3 separate regions of the Homo sapiens genome follow, and all the other regions are linked to region 3. Evidence: promoter capture Hi-C in 16 types of primary human blood cells and fetal thymus (Javierre and others, 2016). All regions are on one chromosome and are shown on one strand. The core of a region is centred on a gene start or on the middle of the fragment in contact, and the rest is flanking DNA. Distances in the headings are between cores, read along the strand shown.

The links. The method cuts DNA at HindIII sites, captures the fragments that hold promoters and counts their contacts. A CHiCAGO score of 5 or more calls a contact.
Region 1: a fragment that was not itself captured here is called in contact with the fragment with the promoter of ANKRD50 in region 3 in 3 of 17 cell types (endothelial precursors, M1 macrophages and megakaryocytes); the score reaches 11.2 in endothelial precursors.
Region 2: a fragment that was not itself captured here is called in contact with the fragment with the promoter of ANKRD50 in region 3 in 1 of 17 cell types (endothelial precursors); the score reaches 13.3 in endothelial precursors.

What each region holds. Positions count from the first base shown.
Region 1 is chr4:125,281,805-125,285,157 of GRCh38, forward strand. No RefSeq gene overlaps it. Among named protein-coding and RNA genes, the nearest start is that of FAT4, 31 kb to the right of the region's middle. The HindIII fragment of the contact is 1,110 bases long and covers 1,469-2,578 here.
Region 2 is chr4:125,241,462-125,244,750 of GRCh38, forward strand. No RefSeq gene overlaps it. Among named protein-coding and RNA genes, the nearest start is that of FAT4, 72 kb to the right of the region's middle. The HindIII fragment of the contact is 882 bases long and covers 1,322-2,203 here.
Region 3 is chr4:124,710,940-124,713,981 of GRCh38, forward strand. It overlaps ANKRD50 (ankyrin repeat domain containing 50), which reads right to left and starts at 1,793. Exons shown (of 5, transcript NM_020337.3): 1 at 1,519-1,793; 2 at 1-335. RefSeq lists enhancers at 1,201-1,766, 1,767-2,332 and silencers at 1,280-1,519, 1,670-2,049. The HindIII fragment of the contact is 8,904 bases long and covers 1-3,042 here.

The DNA of each region.
Region 1 (3,353 bases), core at 774-3,273, 570 kb after region 3:
AGTTTGTAAATGCACCAATCAGCACTCTGTCAAAACAGACCAATCAGCTCTCTGTAAAATGGGCCAATCAGCAGGATGTGGGTGGGGCGCGGGGGGGGGGCGGGGGTGGGTGGTCAGATAGGGGAATAAAAGCAGCTCCCCAGCCCACATTGCGTGGTGGAGTCACTTTCCACGCTGTGGAAAGTTTGTTCTTTCACTCTTAGTAGTAAATCCTGTTGCTGCTCACTCTTTGGGTACCTGCTGCGTTTATGAGCTGTAACACTCACCGTGAAGGTCCGTGGCTTCATTCTTGAACTCAACTAGACCAAGAACCCACAAATTCCGGACACAATGCTATTATCACTAAACCATAATTTGTGCATTTTTTCAAGTTACACACACAGACACACATTCACAGCACTTCCTAGTTACTAAAATGTAATACAGTCTTACAGATGTTTTTTGTATGAATAAATGGATAAGTAAATGTATGAAGAAGGGAAGAAATAAATGTATTTATGTTCAACTCTCTCAGTAATGAGTAACCATTTTAATTTGAATTACTTGACTTTCATTCATGTCGTCTGGTTCAATAAGAAAAGCTGAAGAAGATGTGTAATTTCAGCTGGTAGTCTCGTTCCTTTTTTTTTTTTTTTTCGAGACAGAGTCTCTGTCACCCAGGCTGGAGTGCAGTGGCGTTATCGCAGCTCACTGCAAGCTCTGTCTCCCAGGTTCAAGTGATTCTCCTGCCTCAGCCTACCGAGTAGCTGGGACTACAGGCATGCACCACTACACCCAGCTAATTTTTTGTATTTTTAGTAGAGATGGGGTTTCACCATGTTAGCCAGGATGGTCTCGATCTCCTGACCTTGTGATCCCCGCGCCTCGGCCTCCCAAAGTGTTGCTATTACAGGCGTGAGCCACTGCGCCCGGTCCTTAATGGTCATTCTTTTTGTGGCTCTTTCCTCCATAACTTCTAAACCCAACAACTATCATCTTTTACCCCTTATATTCAATTTTGAGAAAAATAATTTTAAATACTAGTTCCATGTGCAAATATTCCTCTGCATCTCTCTTTCTGCCCTGGGAGCATTGTGTGAAAGTGGAGAATAGTGAGAATTTGATACAGTGATATTTTTTCAACCATTTTTTTTATTTTTATCCTGGACACATGACTATCTCTATGCTACAACTCTCTTTGAAGAATTCTCACTGTGCCATGTTCATTCCTTGTTGTTTCCAGATGTAGTATTACCTAGATTACTCTTCTTTCAGCTGCTGTGAGTGTGTGCATATGAGTGTGTGTGTTCATGGGGATTTCCCTGGGGAAGGTGTATAAACAAACAAAAGAAGGATGGAAGGACACCTGGGAAGGGAAAGGAATATGTGCTGGTTTACAGTTTCCAGGTATACTGCACTATTCCCAAAATTTTGCAAATTAGATTTACTCTGTGATTATTTTTTCCCCAGTTTTCAAATATAAAGGATAAGCTTAATAACCCTTCATTGTTTACATTTCTTTTGTTAATGATACAGGATAGTAATCATAACAACAGTGCGTGTTGCATGTTTCTTATGTGCAAGTCCTGTTCCACGTGCTCTGCAGGCATATTCAGTTCTCACAGGAAACCTCTGGAGGAACTGGTTTTATTATTCGCACCTTACAGAAAAGAAAATAGAGGCAAGGAGCATTAAGAAATTGCCCAAGTCATTCAAGAAAGTAAGTAGTGAAGCCAACAAAGAAGCTACAAACTTTTACCAGTGGGACCACGATACTCATGTTCTTAATAGATTTTTCCAATTACTCAGAACTTTTTTTCACTTGGTCAAAAAGAAGAGGTTCAGAAGAGAAAGGCTATCCAGTGGGAAGAAAGTTGTGCCCTCTTCCACCCTATAGAGCAATCTTTGAGGCATAGAAAGAGCTCTTCATTGATGTCAAAATAGAACTCTGTCTTAGTACATAAAATTCTAAGTTTACGTTTTGAGACTATAAAGGTGTAAAATATAGTGCCTGTCCTGGATTTAATTTTGTAAACTTTTGGCTTTTACAAATCGCTTAAAATAAAATGATGAAGGGTTTTTAAGAAACACTGTCCTTGTTTGGTTGAAGTCTGCCACCATGTGGCCACTTTGAAAAATAACATTTTTAGAAGTGACTTCGTAAGAATTTAGATCTAGAAGGATATAGAATATGCAAATATGATATTTCATAATAGCCGAATTTAATCATTGTAGTCAGCCTATTTGTGGTAATGGTATTATTACACAAATCATTTCACAAGAGTCATTTATTTTCATTTATTTTTACTACCAGCTTTTGAGGTAGAAATGTAAGATCTCTCAGTCTGCAAGTACTATTTTTTAACCTTTCATGAAGTACTGACCTGAACAGGAATCCTTAGATTCTAGGTGGGATTCCAATGTCAACTAGCTGTATCTCTACAACATCATATGACTATGACATGGTAGATTTGGATTTTAAGCCCAGTTCAGTCTGACACTGAAACTGGACATATTAGGACCTAAACACGTTTTCCTTGCTTGAAGTTTGTAAGCTATTTTAGTATATCAATTATATTTGTCAAACAACTAAAATCTAAGCTTAACTTTGCACTAAGTTGACATAAAATTAATAGTAGAACTAGTAGTGGTATAGTATAGAATTTAGTAGTGACAGGCAAATATTCTTGTGATAGTTAATTTTAGGTGTCAACTTGACTGGATTAGATAATTCCTAGAGAGAAGGTATTTCCAGAAGAAATTAGCATGTTAATCTGAGTGGATTAAGTGGCAAAGATCTGCTGTCAATGTGGGCAGACACTATTCAGTCAGCTGGGGGCTTGGCTAGAACAAAACCAGAAAAGGCAATTAGGTCTCTCTTTCAAAGAGCTGAGATATACTCTTCTTCTCCTGTCTTGGACATCAAAACTTTAGGTTCACCAGCCGTGGGATTCTAGGACTTACACCAATATCCACGCCCCCTGCCATCTCCAGATTCTCAGGCTTTCAGTCTTAAACAGAGAGCTCACCATGAGGTTCCTTAGTTCTGAGGCCTTCAGACTTGGACTGAGCCATGCTACTAGCATCCCAGGGTCTCCGTCCCAGGGCTTGTCATGGGACTTCTCAATCCCCATAATTGCACGAGAGCTAATTCCTTTAATAAAATCCCCCTCATGTATCTATGTCTATACCTATATCTATTAATAATATCTCTCTCTGTATATATATGTATCCTATTGATTCTGTCTCTTTGGAAAACCCTGGATTGATAGAATTAGTATCTTGTTAAGAATTGGTGCCTAAGGATTTCAAAATTGTTTTCTCCACATTATGTCAAATGAAACAAAACAAAAACAAAATAACACCTTTGATAT
Region 2 (3,289 bases), core at 513-3,012, 530 kb after region 3:
GGTAAATCCTCAGAGTTGTTCTATCACTGCTAATTTATTTTTAAGGCAGAATTTTTTTGATTAGAAGCATAAAGAAAGTAATCAATTCTTCCCCATTGTGAATTAATTATAGATGTAGCAGTGGTAGAGAATAAAGATTCATTGTGACATATCAATATCTGCTTTCAAAGGAAAGTATGCTTCTATCATTATTTGATCTTTTTTCACATCAGAATTCCAGGTAAATAAACATGCAATTGTAAAAAACAAAAAACCAAAAACCCACAAAACAAAACAAAACTTGCCCAGGATTAAAAAAGAGTACAGTTTCATCATTAAATAACAATTGAAAAAGAGCTGCCCTAAAGCAATAGATCTGAAGTTTACCCACACTTCTTTAAAAGAAAGAAATGTCTGGTAAAATACTTCTGAATTATATTTACTAATACAAAGAGAGATTAACTCTGCACAAATATGTTGGAATAGCTTAAAGTGAAATATGAAAAGTGTCTTCTTTAAGTCAGAATGTTGCAATTGTTTTTTATTATTTAAAAGCCTACATTCTTTCTGTGCATAAGATAGTGTGTGTGAATGCTGTATAATTACTTTGAACCACAAAAGCATTGTAAAAATTGATATAAGGAGAATCACGAAAAGAGTAGACAATGTTGACTGACTTTTCTAGGTAGACTTCTAGATGTCTAACCTATGTAATAATTTATGTTGTTAAGACAGTATTATTTGTCTCACACTTTCATCTTGACATTTTTAACATCAGAAAAAATTAAAGGAATTGGCATTCAGAAAGAATAAATACAAATATTTGTGGTTAGTATATAGTAGACCCAATGATACAACACGTCTAATTCTAAGACCCATATTCTTTCCTTCATAGCATGATGTTTCTTTAAGTTAATTTAACATTTTTGAATGAATAGATACCTATGTACCTATTACATGAAAAATAAATTTGTCTCCATGTACTTGCATAAATACATGGGCAATGTTCATGAAAAGAATGATGGCCACATCTGAAGTGTATTTTCAGACACATCTTCCTCTCTGAATGAGGTAGACAAGTGTAATCTTCAAAGTTTCTGACAATTACAGAAGTCTACAGTTTCCCAAAAAATTAAATTGAAAAGTTGAAATTCTTAATTCAAAAAATAGAATTTTGGAATTTTTACTAAACGTAGAAACTCTGTACAAATATATAGTGATAAATTTGTATAATCAAATATACATTCTGTTTACCAGTATGTGTTAATTCTACCTATAATTTCAGGGAAGCTTCTCAATAATAGTTTTTAACTTTTTTTTTTCAAAATGAATGAAGGCAAGAAGCTTGACACGAACAGCCCAATGTCATGTAACTAATATTTGAAATGTGGTATTAGATCCTAGGATATACTCTCACCAGAAAAAAATGATAAATTGGTGTGGATTCAGACAATAACTTAGAGTTATCAATTCCAGTATCAGAGTCATTCTCTAAAGTTTATTTTTAAACTTTTTGTCCTAATAAAATGTATTATGCATGTGATTTCCTGTATTCCATGAAAAAAATAACATAAGAAATAAAATGTAGTGCCAGTCTTTAAGGATTTCGAATCCATAGTGTGATGGAAAATGAATTCTTATACTTTTACGGTGATAAAGACCCACGTCTCATACTAAAATTTATTTTTAAGTTATATTCATTGACTTCTGGATTTTATAGACACTTAGAAATCCAGTTGTGAAGTTAGCTTTCTAAATCTGTAATTTCTGGTAAAAGATGATGCTATAAATACTAAAGAAGATTGTAAGATAAATAGTAAGGTAAATAAAGCATTGTTTTGGAATGCCATTATTATAAGTAATAATTTTAAATCATCTTCTATTGAAAAAAATGAATATTGTGAATAAAATAGTTTTAAGAAACTACTACTAGCTTTCAACAAAGGAATACCTAAGAGAAAAATAGAAGATATATCACAAATTAAAACAAGAAACAATTTAAGTGGCAGTATAGCTTATAACATATATAAAATCATGGATAGAGTTTATAAATGCAATTTATTTTTGACACATGGTATTAGATATAAAGTTAAAAATCAAAATATAACATTCTTATATATTAGAGATTTTAAAAGACCATTAAATTCTAAAATAATTATATTGAATAAAATTTATATTATGAGGTTGTGAGCCAAATTTGTTCACAAATTGGGCACTGGGTAAAAGCTTATTAAATGAATGAAAATGTAATGGAACAATCTAGAAAAACAAGAACAAAAATAAGCTGAGTCTGCCAAACAATATTGCCTACAAGAAATGAGAAGAAATGCAATCAGAGGAAATATGAAGAGTTTTCTTTATCTTGCTTTTACAGCATTGCCATCGGTCATCCATTCTTCTTGTCCTTTGGAGGTTGAGGAGTGAGCCATAAAAATATTAAATTAAATGAAAACCACTTCATATTAAAATCAATGGATGACTGTTTGAACAGGCACTCTGCCATGGAGCCTAAACATTCCTGCATGTTCTTGCTGGGTATTCTAAAAATGCAAAGTCCTGACTGCTATTTGAGCCATCTTCCAAGGTTGTGATTATGGTGTCCAACCTTGAGAAGAGGTAGCATCTGCCCCTGGACAGAAAGCAGGCTTGTTCCCACTTGCTATAAAAGCAATACATTCCCCAACCTCAATGTTTCTCTGCTGCGGTACAATCCATTGCATGTATAAACACCCGTGGGTCTGGAGGACAGAGGAAACTGGTATAAATATGAAGCTCTGGCTACTACATTTGCTGTGAGTAATATAGTCCTTTGTCTCCTTTACAGGACTTTTGTGTTTTTTTATGAGCATATATAAAACAGTTCCAGGCTAATTTTCTAACTTACAAGTAGGGTAAAATCTCAGATGCTGTGTAGATCTAAACAATGACATCACTATCAAAATGTGTGTGTGCATGTGTGTACACACATAATTCTCTATATTTTTATATGTACATACACATACACATATATCCTGTATCTACTACTTTTTTTAGTCAACTGTTGTAACATTATGCTAATGGTTACATTAAATTGGTTAAGTACATTAAAATGGTTAAGTAAATTGTGCCATTTACTTAAGCCCTCTGTGCCCCCAACTATACATTGAGAATATTATTGATAGATAACTCATAGGGTTGTTATATGAATTAAATGCTATAGTGAGTGGAGTTTTCTTGGAACAATGTTTGGCACTCAATAGCTTTAATTATTCTTTCTTATCTTTGATTACTATTAACATATTTTATAATTCATTATTTTGCAAAGACATTT
Region 3 (3,042 bases), core at 543-3,042:
AATTAGATTCTGAAAAGAGGTCCACTGCATTAAATGGCATCAGAGAGATTACATTTATACGGTATGAGGTACAGTATGTAAGTAGCTCTGTATTTCTCGTTGAAGGATGATCACTCAAGAGTACTAGATCGTGCCAGTTTCAGGCATCTGGGCAACTGCCAGGAACTGTTTCAGATTATAGTCTCTTATGTGGCAGAAATGACAACCACTGTTAACACCTTCTTAATTCAAAGCATTCATAATATGCATTTTTCAAGACAGCAGATTCTTAATGAACCTGTTCACAGGTTTCTTGGTTTTAAGACGTCCGGGTAATCAACAATTTCCACAAGTAACTAAAATAAAACAAACAAAAATACCTCAGTGCAAAATATCATATGTTAAAAACTTATTAAGGACAATAAAGGTTGCAGTGTACCAGTTAACGTAATCTCAAAAATCCACGTACTTCACCTTTGGCACTTTCAAAAAGTTGGACAAAAACCACTGAAATAATCACATTCTCCCTTCTGCATTTTTCTTCCTCATTGTTATGCTTCCCAAACAGCCACATTTTAATCAAGTTACCCAAGATTTTTGCAACTTCACCATAGCAAAGGAGGGGGGGAGAAACTTTACGCACATACAGTAACACCCTTAACTCCAGGCAAAACGCTCATTCACAGTAGACTGGTAGAACAGCGCCAGCTAAGGAAGCTCTATTAACTTACACAGTCCAGTCAGTCAAGGACTGTCTACTCCTCCAGCCACACTTCTTTGTTGATAATGTGCAAAAATCTAGGGGAAGATTACCAGGGTTGCAGCTGGATGGGAAACGGTTTAAAAAAAAAAAACAAAAACGATGGGGGATGACTGTTCTTATAAGAATGATAAAGCAAACACAAGTAAAATGTGAATCCTTCCTTCCTCTGGGCCAAGGATGGAGGTCAGGGATAAAATCTACCAGTCTGGCCGGAGAAAAGGCTGCTAGAGAGAAATTCCTTCCAAGACAGGAAAGGGATAAAGAGTAGAGTGCTTCGGTGCTGGTGGGTGTCTGCCCACAGGTCCGGCCTCCAGTTTCAGCTGACAGACAAAAGGAACTCCGGGATTCCCAGCGCCGGGCACCACCTTGGGTTGGAACCGCCCAGAGGAGCCACAGGGGAGCCACCTCAGAGAGGCCACGAGCGAAGGTGCAGCCTCCACACCGAGGTCTGCCCTTCCAGAGGCTGGGAGCGCCTCTGCACCCCGCCCCGCACCGAGATTGGGGTGTGTCTTTTGAAGGGGGAGGGGGTGACTGAGGTCCTTGCCAATCCCAGACGAGGGGTCGCCTCCCGGTCGGCTTCCGCCTCTGCGCTCCCGCCCCATGCCCCGCTCCCGCTCCCACCCGGCCGACGGCGGTGCGAGGGAAGAGGGCAAATCTGGGGCTCGAGGCCGGAGAGGGTGGGTGGTTGGGTCAGGTCCAAGCCACGGCCTCGGCCTCCCAGCTTCCAACCCGAGGGAGGGGCCTCGCTTCCACCGCCGCCGCCGCCCCCCGGTTACCTCGGCCCCAGCCGCCGCCGTGGCCGCCGCTGCCGCTGTTAGGGACTCTCAGTCTCAGACACTTGCTTCGCTGAGAAGTCGCTGCCAGCAGCGCTCCCAAGACTCCACTCCAACTGCAGCCGCCTCCTCCGCCGGGCCCGGGGCACGCTCCCAGCTCCGGATCCTCCTCTTGGCCCCCGGCGGCTGCCAGTTCCAGCTTTCCCAGCAGAATCGGTCGTGCTCGCCCCAGCCCCCACCGGCCAACCGCCGCCGCCGCCGCCGTCAGGGCAGTAACTGTCTCAGGCAGCCCCCGGCCGGCCGGCTCCGCCCCGCCCGCCCAGCCCAGACCCCGCCCCCGCCCCCGCCCCCGCCCCGCCGCTCGGCCTTTCTTTGCCCGCCGGCTCCGCCTCCGCGTCCTTCCCCTCCCCCACCGCGCTCTCCCGCAGCATCCCGTGCCTGGGCGTGTGCGGCCGCCTGGGACCCGCTGCCGGCGCGGCGGGGAGACCTGTCTCGGGGCGGCGTGGGGGCCCCGCCTTTCTCAGGGGAGGCGGAGAACGGGGCGGGGGCTGCGTTCTCACGTCTCCGAGCTCACGCGAGTCGTTGCCCCCACCCTCCCCGTCACCACTGGGCCCTGATCCTTCCTTTGTCTTCCAGGCCGGAGGGACTCGCCGGCTGTTGGTGCCGTATCTGCTCCTGGGAGGGGCAGTTGGGTAGGGGGAGATTGCCTCTTGCCTCTCTCTGCTCAACCCTTTTGCCTCTCCCTTAACCCCGTTGCTTCCAAAGCCACTTCGGGCCCCGTTCTACCCCTCAGTCGTCCGGTCTCCTTTCAGTCCATTAAATTCCAGGGATGCTTTTACTTTGGCTGGGACGAAGAGAAGGAAGGAAAAGACTGGGAAGAATGTTGCGAAAATAGAAATAGTGGGGGTATACAGCGACATTCCTACCAGCCTCATGAAAAGGACGTGGCCTCCATCAGATGGAGGTTGACAGCAGGCTTGACTGGGTCTCAGGCCCCTGCTCCTCAGGGCCACTTGATCACCCGCAGCGTCCACTAGGGGGGAAGGTCTTGGTCATGTGGCGTCAGGAAATGCCCTAGAGGGCCTGCTCACAGGGGCCTGTTGGACTAAGCATGTCAGTTGTTTGCACTTACTGGACCTGAGTTGCTTAGATTCCAAATTTCTCCCGGGAAAATAAGTATACCGTCAACTGATGGAATAGGAAATGTAGCATTTTTTATTTTAATTGTTTATGCTAAAATCCAGAGTGCTCTATTTCCCATTCCTCATTAACTTGCATGTGGTTATTTGCCAAAATATTAAGCCAGTCTCCCATCTAGTTTTAGAAATTTCATAGTATAGCTATCACAATAAGAAAGATGGATAAACAAATAGATCGTGTTTGTGCTTACTCTTTCATATTGTTTATTCGTGCCAATTGAGGTTTACTGATCTTAGTATTTAATTTTAATTCATGTACCCTGAATTTTGGGCTTCTTTCCTAAAACACAAGCAAAAGAGGCAGAGTATAAATTCTCCAGAATTAGGG